2 separate regions of the Homo sapiens genome follow, and region 1 is linked to region 2. Evidence: promoter capture Hi-C in human tissues and cell types (Jung and others, 2019). All regions are on one chromosome and are shown on one strand. The core of a region is centred on a gene start or on the middle of the fragment in contact, and the rest is flanking DNA. Distances in the headings are between cores, read along the strand shown.

Evidence for each region. Contacts are between HindIII fragments. The study calls those that stand out against the background at their distance.
Region 1: a contact is called between a fragment that was not itself captured here and the fragment with the promoter of ZNF70 in region 2, in 1 of the 25 tissues and cell types used here (spleen).

What each region holds. Positions count from the first base shown.
Region 1 is chr22:22,202,322-22,209,223 of GRCh38, reverse strand. It overlaps IGL and the pseudogene LOC100419915. Among named protein-coding and RNA genes, the nearest start is that of VPREB1, 39 kb to the left of the region's middle. The HindIII fragment of the contact is 6,097 bases long and covers 2,079-6,902 here.
Region 2 is chr22:23,745,553-23,752,509 of GRCh38, reverse strand. It overlaps ZNF70 (zinc finger protein 70), which reads left to right and starts at 1,398. Exons shown (of 2, transcript NM_021916.4): 1 at 1,398-1,799. RefSeq lists enhancers at 123-182, 1,023-1,082, 965-1,640, 6,180-6,680, 6,681-6,957 and a silencer at 1,233-1,682. The HindIII fragment of the contact is 11,413 bases long and covers 1-5,409 here.

The DNA.
Region 1 (6,902 bases), core at 3,878-6,377, 1.5 Mb after region 2:
GCCAAGATGGTCTCGATCTCCTGACCTCCTGATCCGCCCACCTCCCAAAGTGCTGGTATTACAGGCGTGAGCCACCACGCCCGGCCATGATATTTCTTTATTAATTTCTGGGGAAATGGTCGGTCTTTTTTGAGGGATGCCCTTTTTCATCCTTGTAAGACCATGCTGATGCATGCTGCCCATGGGAAGCCAAAGGGTCAATGAATCCCCTGGCATTGTGTCCAGTCACTCCATTTCCTTCTCCCGTAGCTTTTCAGGGAAGCAGCCCTGAGAACTCAGAGGATCTTTCTCTGATTGAAGCATCTGACCTCTGGTTGATATCTCTAAACATGCTGTTTTTTCAAAAATCATGTTCACTGTCTTCCAATGACTGTGCAAATGTCTCAACCCACATCCTCCCAGATGCTCAAGATAATCCTTCATTGATATAAAATGGACTCTAATTGCTAATATTCTGAGAAAGTTTTGCTTCTATGTTCATTAATGAGATTGTCTTGTATTATTCAAATCTGTTTCTGTTTCTGTTGAGTTTAGTTTTACTCTTTCGCTGGAACATCAAAATAAGTATGTGTGTTTGTGTGTGTGTGTGTGTGTGTGTGTGTGTGTTTATAATTTTATACAAAGGTCCAGACTGTATAAATGGCAGTTAGCACTCTCTAACCCAGCCCTCTACAAGGAGGTTTAGAAATAATGGATAGAACGAGATAACAAGCTCCTCATGCCCAGACGATAGGACTGAAAGGCAGTGGTAATGTGCACCCAGAAACCTTGACCTCATCCCTAAAAGAACTCCTGATCTAAAGACTGAGGATTTTGAAGTGGACTGAGATTCTGGCCATGCTGGAGAAGCTCCAGGGTTCTTCTTGCTGAGTCTAAGTTGTTAGGATGGGAACTTCCCCAATTCCAAGTGTTTCTCATTCTGTGCCCAGGAAACATTGTAGTTCAAGTTCCTTTGAGCAAATTTGTTCCTGCTGTGTGATTTGTCTCTGCTTGAAGGGCAGGCTTGGACAAGGACTCCATGAGGGCGGAGGATAAAATAGGAAGCATTGGAGTGTGAGTCTAGTGCTCAGTGGCTCCTGAGGTGCAGGAAGTGGCTCCTGCTCGGTGGTGCAGGTGCAGGAAGTCATACTTCAGTGAGGACACTGCTTGCTCAAGTGTATGAGAACCAGTATTTTCCTATGTGGCCTGGCCCAGAGCCCTTCCCTCTCAGGAACAGTCCAACAGCACCCCCTGCTGGCTCCGATCCCAAGTCGGGTGGCCCCTCAGACACAGACCCAGCTCTTCTGGAAGGACATCCTGACCATTGCAAATGGATCTTTCAACTCATGACCTAAGGGAGTAGAATGAGTGGGTCCTCTCTGCAGTGTTTACAGCTGAGACATTATTTCTTTCACGTTAGTTATGGTCTGCAAAGAGCTAATCACAGAATGTGTTTCAGGATGCACAGTGATGATTTACCAGATATCAGCATCACCAGGCGTGTGAGTGTGTTTCTCCCAGGGGCCTGTGGTCATCACCAGTCTGTGGTCATCTTGAACCCAATCTAAGGCTTAATGTTCTGCTGAGCCTCCAGGTGGTTCATACCTGGGGATAATTCTACATGGGCTTCTTTTAGAGGTTGACTTATTTTGTTATTGTCGTTATTGTCGTGAGGGTCGCCTGTGAGATTCCTTCAGCTCCTACTGCACAAGCCTTGGCATTATAGCCCATAAGAATGATGCTGTCAGAAAAAAAGTGTCTCTTGCTCTGTTTCGCCTCTGACTTCTTTTGCTATTTAATATTATCCTGGTAATACCTCTTTTCTTTTGACCATGTTATATATTTAAGGTATTTTAGTCTAATTTTATAATTTTCGTCAATATGTGGATGGATATAAAAAGACAATTCTCAAAAGTGGAACCCCTCCTTTCTTTTTGGATGTTCTCCCCATACTACTGGCCTGAGGAACCCTCACGTCCCATTTCCCCACCATCACTGGGCCCTGATTCATTTTATTCGTTAAGAAGATCCCTGGATTTAATGGGGATTGGATTCACAAAGCCTAGGTCTCAGAGAACTTCTATTCATCCAACATCTTTCCAACCAAAGAACCAGAGACAAGCACTAGAAATGTGGAGTCAACCTGGAGGCTTGAGGCCTTCATGGCTCTGAGAGCTGGGTCCTTACTGCGGAGGGGCTGCCCTGCACCTGGGAACAGAGCAGCTCTTCCAGAGGCAATCTCAAAAGAAAGAGAAACCTAACTTCTCTGTGGGTTCAGAGCCCAAAGGGTGATCAGCAAAGCCAGGGCCAGATGTAGGGACATGTGAAGCCCATGAGGGCCATACCTGCCAAACTTCTGCTGCTCTTCTCATCCCAGCAGACAACAACGAGGGCTATCTTTGTTACTGTGGACATAGTGATTATGTTTTCATTGGGAGACCAGTAAGAAAAGGTGTCTTTTCATTGAATCCGTAAAGATAAACAGAAAATACCATTAAGCCCTCTGGTTTTAGGAGCACGTGTGATAGCATCAGCAAAAACCTGAGCTGGTCTTGGTAGTATTCACTCAAGCAGGCAGAAAAAGGGCAAAGATGGATCTGACAGAAGAGTTGGAAGGCCAATTTCTATCTAATTTTCTCATATGACAGTGACTGTTGGTGGTGACTGAGGCTGCTGTGCTGCCCCTGAATAAATGTCACCATCATCCTCATGCACTGACTGGAACCCAGAGAAAGTCAGGGAGGCTGAACTGCCGACTGGAAGAAGGGACCTGACCTGTGATTGCCCAGCATTAAACTTTTCCACCAGCAGGTGTCCAGAGCATTTCCTGGCTGAACCTGATAGCAGGATCCCTTACCCTCCATGCCACTGGTGGTTCCTGTGACTTCATCGAGATTCAACCTGAGGGTGGCTGGATCACCACAGGCTAAGCCCTGACTTCTAGCTGGAGACATAGAGAATCCTGGAAACTGAAGATGTCCAGAATAATGTGTACCCAGAGAGAAGAGAGGGGTGTGTGTGTGCGTGTGTGTGTGTGTGTGTGTGTGTGTGTGTGTGTGAAAGAGAGAGAGAGAGAGAGAGAACATGTGTCTTCCAGGACCCATTCCTGCCTAGGCAGAGCCTAAAGTGAGTGGCAGCCTGCCTCACGGCCAAAATGTGATCTTGAAATAGCAATTATTAAAAATGCTCAGGCAGCATCCTTTCAATAAGTACCTAAGCCTAAACTGGGGAGTACTGCATTGACACATTCATAGGCTGATCAGTGAAGGGAGAAACCACCTAAATGAGGATATTAACGTGGCATTTCTATGTCTTTCCTCATTGAATTAAACGCAAGTACAGGTTCTATGATCACTGAGCTGAGAATCTTTTCAAAGGAGAATATTCTTTCCAGTAGATTTAATATTATCACAAAATTAAAACAAACCAATTTCATTATTCTCACATTCTAAGACTCTGGTATATTTAAACGTTAAATTAAGAGCATGTTTTGAAAACCTCTCAATAGGGGCAGGAACACCTATATTTAAGACTCCTCTACCTTTACTTTAAAGAAACACATCACTTTCCATTTGGAGGGGAATGTCAGAATTCTATCAGCCACATAGATCTTTTTATAAAGTATGATTTTACATTTTATTTATTCATTCAATCAACTGGGAATTGCTGTATTGTACAAATACAATGTTGTACAAAAATCACAGAATGTTACAAAATAAAAAGTACAAACTGCATTACTTAATAAATGTGACTACAATTAGGCAAAGTGGCAATATGATAGATTTTAGGTGGGAAACATTAACACAACAAACCATACAATCTCTGCAGACATTTGTACATTATAAAATAGGATGATCCTATTTTGCCTTTTAAAAGAATTTAAAAGGAGTATTAAGACGGTATCTTCTGCTATGAAATAACTGCCGAGGTTGGCTCCAGGCATTTATGCCATTAGCTTTTAAAACTCTTAGGGGACTCCAACATGCTATATTGCAGTAGGTTTAGCTTGTCACAGAGTCTTATACCATGTTAAGATTACCTTAAAACAAAATCACAAACATAAATAAAAACAATTGAGATCACCCAACATTCTGCTCTAACATCAATCTAGTGCAGATTAGTCACTCTGCCATCAGCAAGCATCAGACTTTCATTCAAGTAAGACCTGGTACAATCCGTTAAAGAAGAAGAAAAAAAAAAACTTCCCACAATCCTTTGTTAAGTATTTCTCTCTAAAAGATTGACCATTTCTAAACAAATAATGGTTCCAAAACAACAAATCTATTTGTATCAAAATGTAATGGGCCAATCATTTGGTAACAAGAATGCATCAATATAAGTTTCTAAGAATTGTAAAATTCAAATTTCAACAGCGTAACTACCAAATCACAAACTCTGTTCAAAATAATAAATTTTATATAAAACACTTCTCTTAATTTCTGCCTGAAAGCTGCTTGTCAAAAGTAATGTACTGTCATAGATGAAGGTACACCATTTTTTAATGTTGTGTAAAAATACACTTTTGTAGAAAATAGACTACCAGGAATGAACAGATTTACACTGTGAGAAATTAGCTTTCAAATTAAGCAGTGCTCACTTAAACAGAAAATTACAGATGCAGTAAAATCACCCAAAACTATCATGCAACATCATTTAGGCGCCCAGCAACTTTTAGTTCCGAGAAAACATTTTAAAAGATGATTATGGCGTTACACTCACAGAAAAGCTATTAGGAAGTGCCAGCTGCGGTGGCTCACGCCTGTAATCCCAGCGCTGTAGGAGGCCGAGGCGGGTGGATCACGAGGTCAGGAGATTGAGACCATCCTGGCTAACACCGTGAAACCCCGTCTCTACTAAAAATACAAAAAATTAGCCGGGCGTGGTGGTGGGCACCCGTGGTCCCAGCTACTCGGGAGGCTGAGGCAGGGGAATGGCGTGAACCCAGGAGGCGGAGCTTGCAGTGAGCCGAGGTCGCGCCACTGCACTCCAGCCTGGGCAACACTGCGAAACTCCATCTCAAAAAAAAAAAAAAAAAAAAAAAGGAAAGAAAAGCTGTTAGGAACTTTACAAGTGTTATTACCCTGATTAGAGTTCATGTCATTCTCCAAGCACAAGTTCTGTATGCAATTTTCCCAGGGTGTAAGGTTTTCAGACATTTCAAGGGTAGGCATTTTATTCAGAATATGTGGCCCCAGAGTGAGCAAGTTATTCATTGCGTTGCCTTTTGCTTTTGAGTCTGTTTGCACCAGTTGTCGTACTTGGTTAGGATAGGAGTGATCAAATACTGCATCCTAGTGCCCGTTACTGAGCCAACTGAGCCAAATACTAGGCTTTAGGCAATCCTCTGGGCCCAAATAATGAATCATGGTAGATAGACACTGTGGGCCTCTCCAGCCTCCCTCTAGTAGTTCAGTGCTATTCACATTCAGCATCTACCCTATGTACACAGGGTACCCAGCCACGCCCCGTTTTGGGCAGCCGCGATAATAAGCTTCCCCGTGTCACCCTCACCCAGGGAGCTAAAGTGGTGGAGACGATCGGGATGGGGCGCACCCTCCGCTCCGCAGCTCCTGGTGCAGGCTCGGGTCTAGCACTGGGTCTTGCTGACAGCACCGTAGAGGCCGTTGCCATGGGGAATGATGTGGAATCGGTGCTGATTCTTCTGCGTAAGCCCATGTCCTGCTTCTCGCCTGGGCCAGGTGCAAGGCTAGCTTCTCCTGTGATCCGACCTGGAGAGAACCACCTTGCTGGCGCCGCTCTGGGCAGCCTCGCTGCTGCTGGTCTGGTCGGGGAACCTCAGCCTCTGGGTGGGGCCTTAGTGCAGCGTCTTCACCTGCATCTTCGCCGTGTCTTCTCTCTCTCCCAGCCCCGCAGGCTCATCTCCGCCATGTGCTCTTCTCCTGGTGGACCCTGGCGAGGATCCGGGCTCCCCGGGGGTGATGCAGCCTCCATCCTGGGTGGCGGCCTGGGTTTGGCGCTGCTTGCTCAGGGGGAAGTTTCTATCAGGCCCCTCCCGAGCTGCCGCTAAGCCGCGGGCTCCATGCAGGGTAGTCGGGCGCAGCAGCTCCTCCAGGAGCCAGGTGGAGGAGCCCTGCCAAGGCAGGCGGGACTGGGCCATGCACCAGGAGCCTTGCAGCTCCCAGACCCATGCAGAGATCCACATGGATCATCTCTGTCAAGTTAAAGAGATAAAACAAAACTAAACTAACAAAACCAAAAAAAAAAAAAAAAAAAAAAGAGGTCGGGCACGGTGGTTCACGCCTGTAATCCCAGCACTTTGGGAGGCCGAGGACGGCGGATCCCGAAGTCAGGAGTTCCAGACCAGCCTGACCAACATGGTGAAACCCCGTCTCTACTAAAAAATACAAAAAATTTAGCCAGGCATGGTGGCGCACGCCTGTATCCCAGCTACTCAGGAGGCTGAGGCAGGAGAATCGTTTGAACCAGGGAGGCTTAGGTTGCAGTGAGCCCAGCTCACTGCACTGCACTCCAGCCTCGCTGACAGCAAGACTCTGCCTCAAAAAAAAAAAGGAAAGAAAAGCAATCTTAAAAATAAAACAATAACAAACAGTGAGAGTCATCCTGCAGAGCTGCCAGGGCTGTTCACCTATTCAACCCATGGTAACCATTTATTCTAGAGGCAGGGCAGAATTGCTGGCTACTGGTGGGAAGACGGTAATGTCTGCTGACATTTTATTTCATATATTATACATATACATGATACATAATTTTATATATACATGATACATAATTTTATACAACTCTTGTATATAGTGGTATTATGTATTATGCCATCTGGATGTATTTCAGCTGTTTCACAACTCTTTTACTAGTGGAAATTGGTTAGTAATGTTAGTATTTCTTAGTATTGGTATAAGTTTTTGTGTTTTGATTTTAGCTGCTTAGAGTCACTATGGGCATTA
Region 2 (6,957 bases), core at 149-2,648:
AGAAAAAGGAACCAGCCCTTGCCGCCCCCAACTCTGCATGGCTGGTTATGGTCCAAGGGTTATGGCTCTAGGGTGGCTGGTCCCCATGGAGCTCAGGCTGTTGGCTTGGGGAGGGGCAGCCACTGCCTACCCCTTGGAGTCTGTGCCCAAGGCCCGACAGAGCATTAATGGGGCAGGAAGGCAGGTGTGTGTGGGTAGCATTGGAGGCACTCGAGCGCCAAGGCTGAGGGTGCTGAAGGCAGGTGGGCGGCTGGGGCAGAATCCTTTTTCCCAGGGACAGTGTGTTCTCCTGATGTCCTGTGATTGGGCCAAGGTCTGCGGAGGGAAGCTCTCCCACAAGCTGGGCAGCTGCACCTGAGGGGGGGGTGTCATGGGCAGAACACTGGGTGGAGGGGCCAGTCTTGCCATCAGCAGCAAGGAGGGGGCGGAGATTCCTTTTCTTTTTTTTTTTTTTGTTTTTTGAGATGGAGTCTCGCTCTGTCGCCCAGGCTGGAGTGCAATGGCACTATCTTGGCTCACTGCAACCTCCGCCTCTCAGGGTCAAACGATTCTCCTGTCTCAGTAGCTGGGATTACAGGCGCTTGTCACCACTCCCGGATAATTTTTAGTAGAAACAGGGTTTCACCATGTTGGTCTGGCTGAGTCTCGAACTCCTGACCTCGTGATCCACCCGCCTCCGCCTCCCAAAATGCTGGGATTAAAGGCGTGAGCCACCGCGCCCGGCCAAGGGGGCGGCCATTTCAAGAACACATTCCTCTTCCCTCCCGGTGCGCCTGAGAGGAGGCGCTTCATGTCGAAGTCAGCCCTGGGATGCAGAGAGTTGGGGGGCTCAGGGTCCTGGGATGGTCTCGCAGACACTCCTAGTTCTTCGCCTGCCCCTTCTCATCTCTATTTCTGTGGGGGCGGGGAGGGCAGACAGGAACAGGGCTACCCTTGAAGCAGGTTGGGGGAGGGGGATCCTAACAGGACCCCGGTGCCTGTGGACAGTGACAGGGTCGACAGCTCTGGGGCTCCACTCTCCTTTCCCTGAAGACCCCAGCTGCCTCAGTGGCTTCTGGCTTGCACCCAGCACCAGCGCAGATGCCCCGAGTGCCGGCGGCTCGAGGTCGGCCCGCCCGTCCGGACCTGTTTCCTCCTCTGCTCTCCTGCCAACGCCTGCCCATCTCTGTTTCCCCCACGTCCAGCACGCGCTTCGGGGACGGCCAGAGCCACCATGCCGACTGGAGAGACTCTCCTGATTCGGGTCCTTGTGTCCCGGGGCCCGGGCGGCTTCGCGCGGCGACAACCGGCGCGGTGGGACCACCGAGACGCCGGGACCTCCGCGCGGCCTAGAGTGGTCCCGGAAGTGCCCGCGGGCCGGGGGCGGGGCTCTGGGTGCTCGGGCGGCCGCGGGCTCCGCGTCAGCAGCTGCTGTGGAGCCAGGCAGCGTCGGCCGCGTCGGCCGCGGGTTGGAGCAGCTCAGGTGCGGCCCCGCCCCGCCCGCCTGCGGCCCCGCCCCGGCCCAGGTGAGCTGCCCCGCCCCGGCCCAGGTGAGTGGCCCCGCGTCCGCCGGTGTGACCTGAGTCCGCCTGACCACCTGTCCCTCCGGTGGCCCTGGGTGTGCGTGTCCCCAATCGCGGGGAAGCCTGTAGGGGCGCCACGTCGCCGCCTGGGCAGCGTGTGCGGGTCCGTGGCAACTCTTGGGCCCCCAGCCAGGAAACCTTGACTGCACTAAGAGTTTGCAGGGTGCCCAGGCCCTAGGGACTCTCTGGAGGATGGGATGACAGATGCAGGAGGACCCGGAGAAGGCCCCGACAGAGGTGGGAAGCATGGAGTTCCAGATCTTTGCATTTTCGGTCCAAAAACACTTATCATGTTGTGGGAGACAGATAAAGGGTTGCCAACTTTTTTCTGAGTGGAGACTTCAGGGTGTAGGGGCTATATAGTGGGAATGGAAAACCTCTACGGAGGGAAGTTTGAGAACACCAGGACTTAATGGGTGGGCGGAGGAAGAGTTGCAATCTAAAGATATCAAGAAAGAGAACTTGGAAGCCATGAAAATTGGGAAGAAAGCGAGGGTGGGGATGGGGTTGGGGGGTAGCTCAAAGCTTTCATGCACCTAGGTAGGCAATGTGGGCGGGTGAAGGGATATTGTCACATCTTCGTTTTTCAAGAGAAAGCCAGAAACCTACTGAGTTTTAAATATTGGTAACTAAGGAAAATGAACAGGAAAAGCCAAACTCTTCGAGAGCCAAACATAACATAGCAGGATCTTCAGGCTGCCAATTTGCAACCTCTGAAATGAAGGGTTTTGAGAAGGAGGTATTGGAGAGCAGTGCCAGATGGGGTGGGAAGGTGAAGACCGAGAAGAGAGGGATTGGCAATAAGGAGGTCATAGAATGCCAGAGCTGAGGTCCCAGCTGAAATCGGAAACTCGAAATTTGTCGTGGTGCCATACATAGTTGTATGATTTTTCTTGGCAACATTTAACAACTTAGGAGGAACTGGCCGAGAAGACTGGGACTTAGCGGCTAGTTGCAGCCGGACGAGGAGGTGAGGAGCATGGTGCTAGAGCGTGAGAGTTGAAGTGATGCGCATAGTATGGAGAGTCTAAGCTGGATGGAGAAGGGGTGGAGCTAGAAAAGGAGAACTACAGTAAAAATGGCTTGGATTTCATGAGGTCGAAAAGCACAAATTGAGTGAGAGAGCTGGAAGAGTTGGAGATTATGGGTTGCTGAAGAGGAGGGGGAGGGTGAGAGGAGTTGAAGTGATCAAAGAATTTTTGAAAATACTTTAGGGCTGGGCGAGGGGGCTCACGCCTATAATACCAGCACTTTCGGAGGCCAAAATGGGTGGATCGCATGAGCTCAGAAATTCGAGACCAGTCTGCACAACATGGCGAAAACCCATCTCTACAAAAAATACAAAAATTAGCCAGGTGTGGCACGTGCCTGTAGAGCCTGTATTCCCAGCTACTTTTTTTTTTTTTTTTTTTTTTTTTTTGAGACGGAGTCTCGTCCTGTCGCCCAGCCTGGAGTGCAGTGGCGCGATCTCGGCTCACTGCAAGCTCCGCCTCCTGGGTTCACGCCATTCTCCTGCCTCAGCCTCCCAAGTAGCTGGGACTACAGGCACCTGCCACCACGGCCGGCTTTTTTTTTTTTTTTTTTTTTTTTTTTTTTTTTGAGATGGAGTCTCGCTCTGTTACCCAGGCTAGAGTGCAGTGGCGCGATCTCGGCTCACTGCAACCTCCGCCCCCCAGGTTCAAGCGATTCTCCTGCCTCAGCCTCCCGGAGTAGCTGGGATTACAGACGCGCTGTAATTTTTGTAATTTTAGTAGAGACGGGGTTTCACCATCTTGGCCAGGCTGGTCTTGAACTCCTGACCTCATGATCCACCCACCTCGGCCTCCCAAAGTGCTGGGATTAGAGGCGTGAGCCACCGCGTCCGGCCTTTTTTGTATTTTTAATAGAGACAGGGTTTCACCGTGTTAGCCAGGATGGTGTCCTAGCTACTTAAGAGGCTGAGATAGGAGAATCACTTGAACCCAGGAGCCAGAGGTTCCAGTGAGCTGTAATCACACTACTGCACTCCATTCTGGAAAAAGAAAATACTTTAGTTCAGTGCTCTTTTTTTTTTATATCCAGTCGGTCTATTGGCTGAAAAATCATTTAAAAAAATCATTTCTGGGCTGGGCGTGGTGGCTCACACCTGTAATCCCAGCACTTTGGGATGCCAAGGTGGGCGGATCACCTGAGGTCAGGAGTTCGAGACCAGCCTGGCCAACATAGTGAAACCCCATCTCTACTAAAAATACAAAAATTATCCGGGCCTGGTGGCGGGTGCCTGTAATCCCAGCTATTCAGGAGGGTGAGGCAGGAGAATTGCTTGAACCCAGGAGGCAGAGGTTGCAGTGAGCCGAGATTGGGCCATTGCACTCCTGGCTGGGCAACAAGAGTGAGACTCCACCTCAAAAAAAAAAAAAAATCATTTCTGCTGGGCATGGTGGCTCATGCCTGTAATCCAGCACTTTGGGAGGCAGAGGTGGGAGGACTGCTTGAGCCCAGGAGTTCAAGACCAGCCTGGGCAACATAATATTATCTCATCTCTACAGAAAAATTAAAAAATTAGCTGGATGTGTTGATATGCCCCTGTAGTCCCAGCTACTTGAGAGGCTGAGGTTGGAGGATCAGTTGAGCCGGGGAGGTCAAGGCTGCAGTGAGCTGTGATTCTACTCCTGCACTCCAGCCTGGGTGACAGAGTGAGACCCTGTCTCAAAAAAAATTTTTTTTTCCAAGTAGAAATGAGTTCTGTTATGACTGTTCTGATTAATTTAGTTTTTTTTTTTTTTCTGAGGCAGTTACTCTCTAGATGCAGTATAAGGATAATTGTGCCTTTGTATAGAGTTGTGAAGATTAAATGAGGTGCCTTGAAGGACCTATTAGTGCCTAGCACAGAGTAGGTGCTCAGTGAATATGAGCTGTTGCTATCATTATTGTGTCACCTGAAGACTTTGCCTTTATCTAGCACAGAAGTTTCTGAATAGGGCTCTTTGGGGCTTCCTCAGGGGCCACATCTGGGAGGGGGAGTGCTGAGTGGGCTGTTCTAGCTTCCTTCCTTGTCCCTGCTAACGCGCCCTCCTTCAACTGGAGCAGCTCTGCTTTTGTCTGTTTTATTTTATTTTTATTTTTATTTATTTATTTATTTTTTGAGACGGAGTCTCACTCTGTTGCCCAGGCTGGTGTGCAGTGGCATGATCTCGCAAGCTCTGCCTCCTGAGTTCACGCCATTCTCCTGCCTCAGCCTCCCGAGTAGCTGGGACTACAGGCACCTGCCACCACGCCTGGCTAATTTTTTTGTATTTCTAGTAGAGATGGGGTTTCACCGTGTTAGCCAGGATGGTCTCGATCTCGTGACCTCGTGATCTGCCCACCTCGGCTTCCCAAAGTGCTGGGATTACAGGTGTGAGCCACCGCGCCCGGACTTGTCTGTTTTATTTATTTATGTCTCCTAGACCAGTGATCCCCAACCTTTTTGGCATCAGGGACCAGTTTTGCAGAAGACAATTTTTCCATGAATGGGTGGGGGACATGGGGGATGGTTTTGAGATGAAACTGTTCCACCTCAGATCATCAGGTGTTAGATTCTCATAAAGAGTGCACAACCAAATCCCTCGTATGCACAGTTTACGATAGGGTTCCAGTTCCTATGAGAATCTAATGCCACTGCTCATCTGACAGGAGGCAGAGTTCAGGCTGTAATGCTCGCTCACCTTCCGCTCACCTCCTGCTATGCGGCCTGGTTCCTAACAGGCCACAGACTGGTGCCTGTCCCCCACTCTGGGGGTTGGGGACCCCTGTCCTAGACAGTTGACTTATTTGACTAAAGTGTTCTTTGACCAAAAAAAGTGACAGTTCTAGAAAAACAAATGGCTTTTCCTCCATTTGATAATTTATTCAACAACTGTGTACATTGGGATTGTGCTTTTGTGCTGGGGGCTGGGGATTCTGAAATGAAGGAGCACAGTATTTGCCCTTAGGGAATTTTCAAGCTAACGATGGGGGCCTGAGATGGTCAAGAACCTGAGGGTGCAGAGAAAAAGGGACATTTGGACGAGTCCTGAAGGATGAGCAAGTGGCAGTCTGAGAATGGTCCTTACCTGTTAGGACCAGACAACAGCAGTGCAAATTAGTCATTGAGCTGGAAAATTAGAAGTGTTGGGGGGACCAGCCTGGGCAATACAGTGTGACCTCATCTCTACAAAAAGAAAGAATTAAAAAAATTAGCAGAGTGTGGTGGCATACACTTGCAGTCCCAGGAGGCTGAGGTGGGAGGATCACTTGAGCCTGGGAGGCAGAGGTTGCAGTGAGCCAAGATCACACCACTATACTCCAGCCTGGGCAACGGGCAAGAGCCTATCTCAAATAAAAAAGAAGAGGTGTATGGGGCAGACAGACAGGAGATGGATTGGAAGGGCCAGGTGTGAAGGAGTTGGGCTGTCACAAGATCCTAAGAAGGGAACCACCAGGCCAGGCATGGTGGCTCACGCCTGTAATCCCAGCACTTTGGGAGGCCAAGGCAGGCAGATCACTTGAGATCAGAAGTTTGAGACCAGCCTGGCCAACATGGTGAATCCCGGTCTCTACTAAAAATACAAAAATTAGCCAAGAATGGTGGTGGGCGCTTGTAATCCCAGCTACTCGGGAGGCCAAGGCAGGAGAATCACTTGAAGTTGGAAGGCAGAGGTTGCAGTGATCCAAGATCGTGCCACTGCACTCCAGCCTGGGTGAAAGAGTGAAACTCCATCTCAAAAAAAAAAAAAAAAAAAAAAAGGGAACCACCATAATCAGGCTTATGTTTTGGATATTTGACTCCATTGTTAGTGTAGGGCATGCACCAGAGGGAGAGGAGGAAGCCGGAGGTCAGCAGCTAGTTTGGAGGCCAGCCCTGAAAAGATCCCAGGAGGTAGCTCTGAAGCCTGAGCTGCAGAGTGGCAGTGAGGACTGAGAGACAGAGACGCTGCCCATGCAGCCTCAGGAAGTAGATAAGAGGGGACCGGTCGGGTGAGAATAAGAGCGGTTATGCTGACTCCCAGGTTGGGGCACCTGGCTGGAGGGAGTGCGACTGGAGGGTAGAGGGAAGAGCTCTCTTTCTCTTTCCCAGCAAAACCTGCCCCCAATGTCACCCAGTAGCTGGAGTCTTGCTCCTTTTCTGCAATGGCCCCACTTCCTGGTTGTTGTTGCTGTTGTTGTTGTTGTTGTTTGAGATAGAGTCTCGCTTTGTTGCCCACGTTGGAGTGCAGTGGGCTGATCTCCGCTCACTGCAATCTCTGCCTCCCAGGTTCAAGCGAGTCTCCTGCCTCAGCCTCCCTAGTAGCTGGGATTACAGGCACCCACCACCACACCCAGCTAATTGTTTTGTATTTTTAGTGGAGACCGGGTTTCACCATGTGACCAGGCTGGTTTTGAACTCCTGACCTCA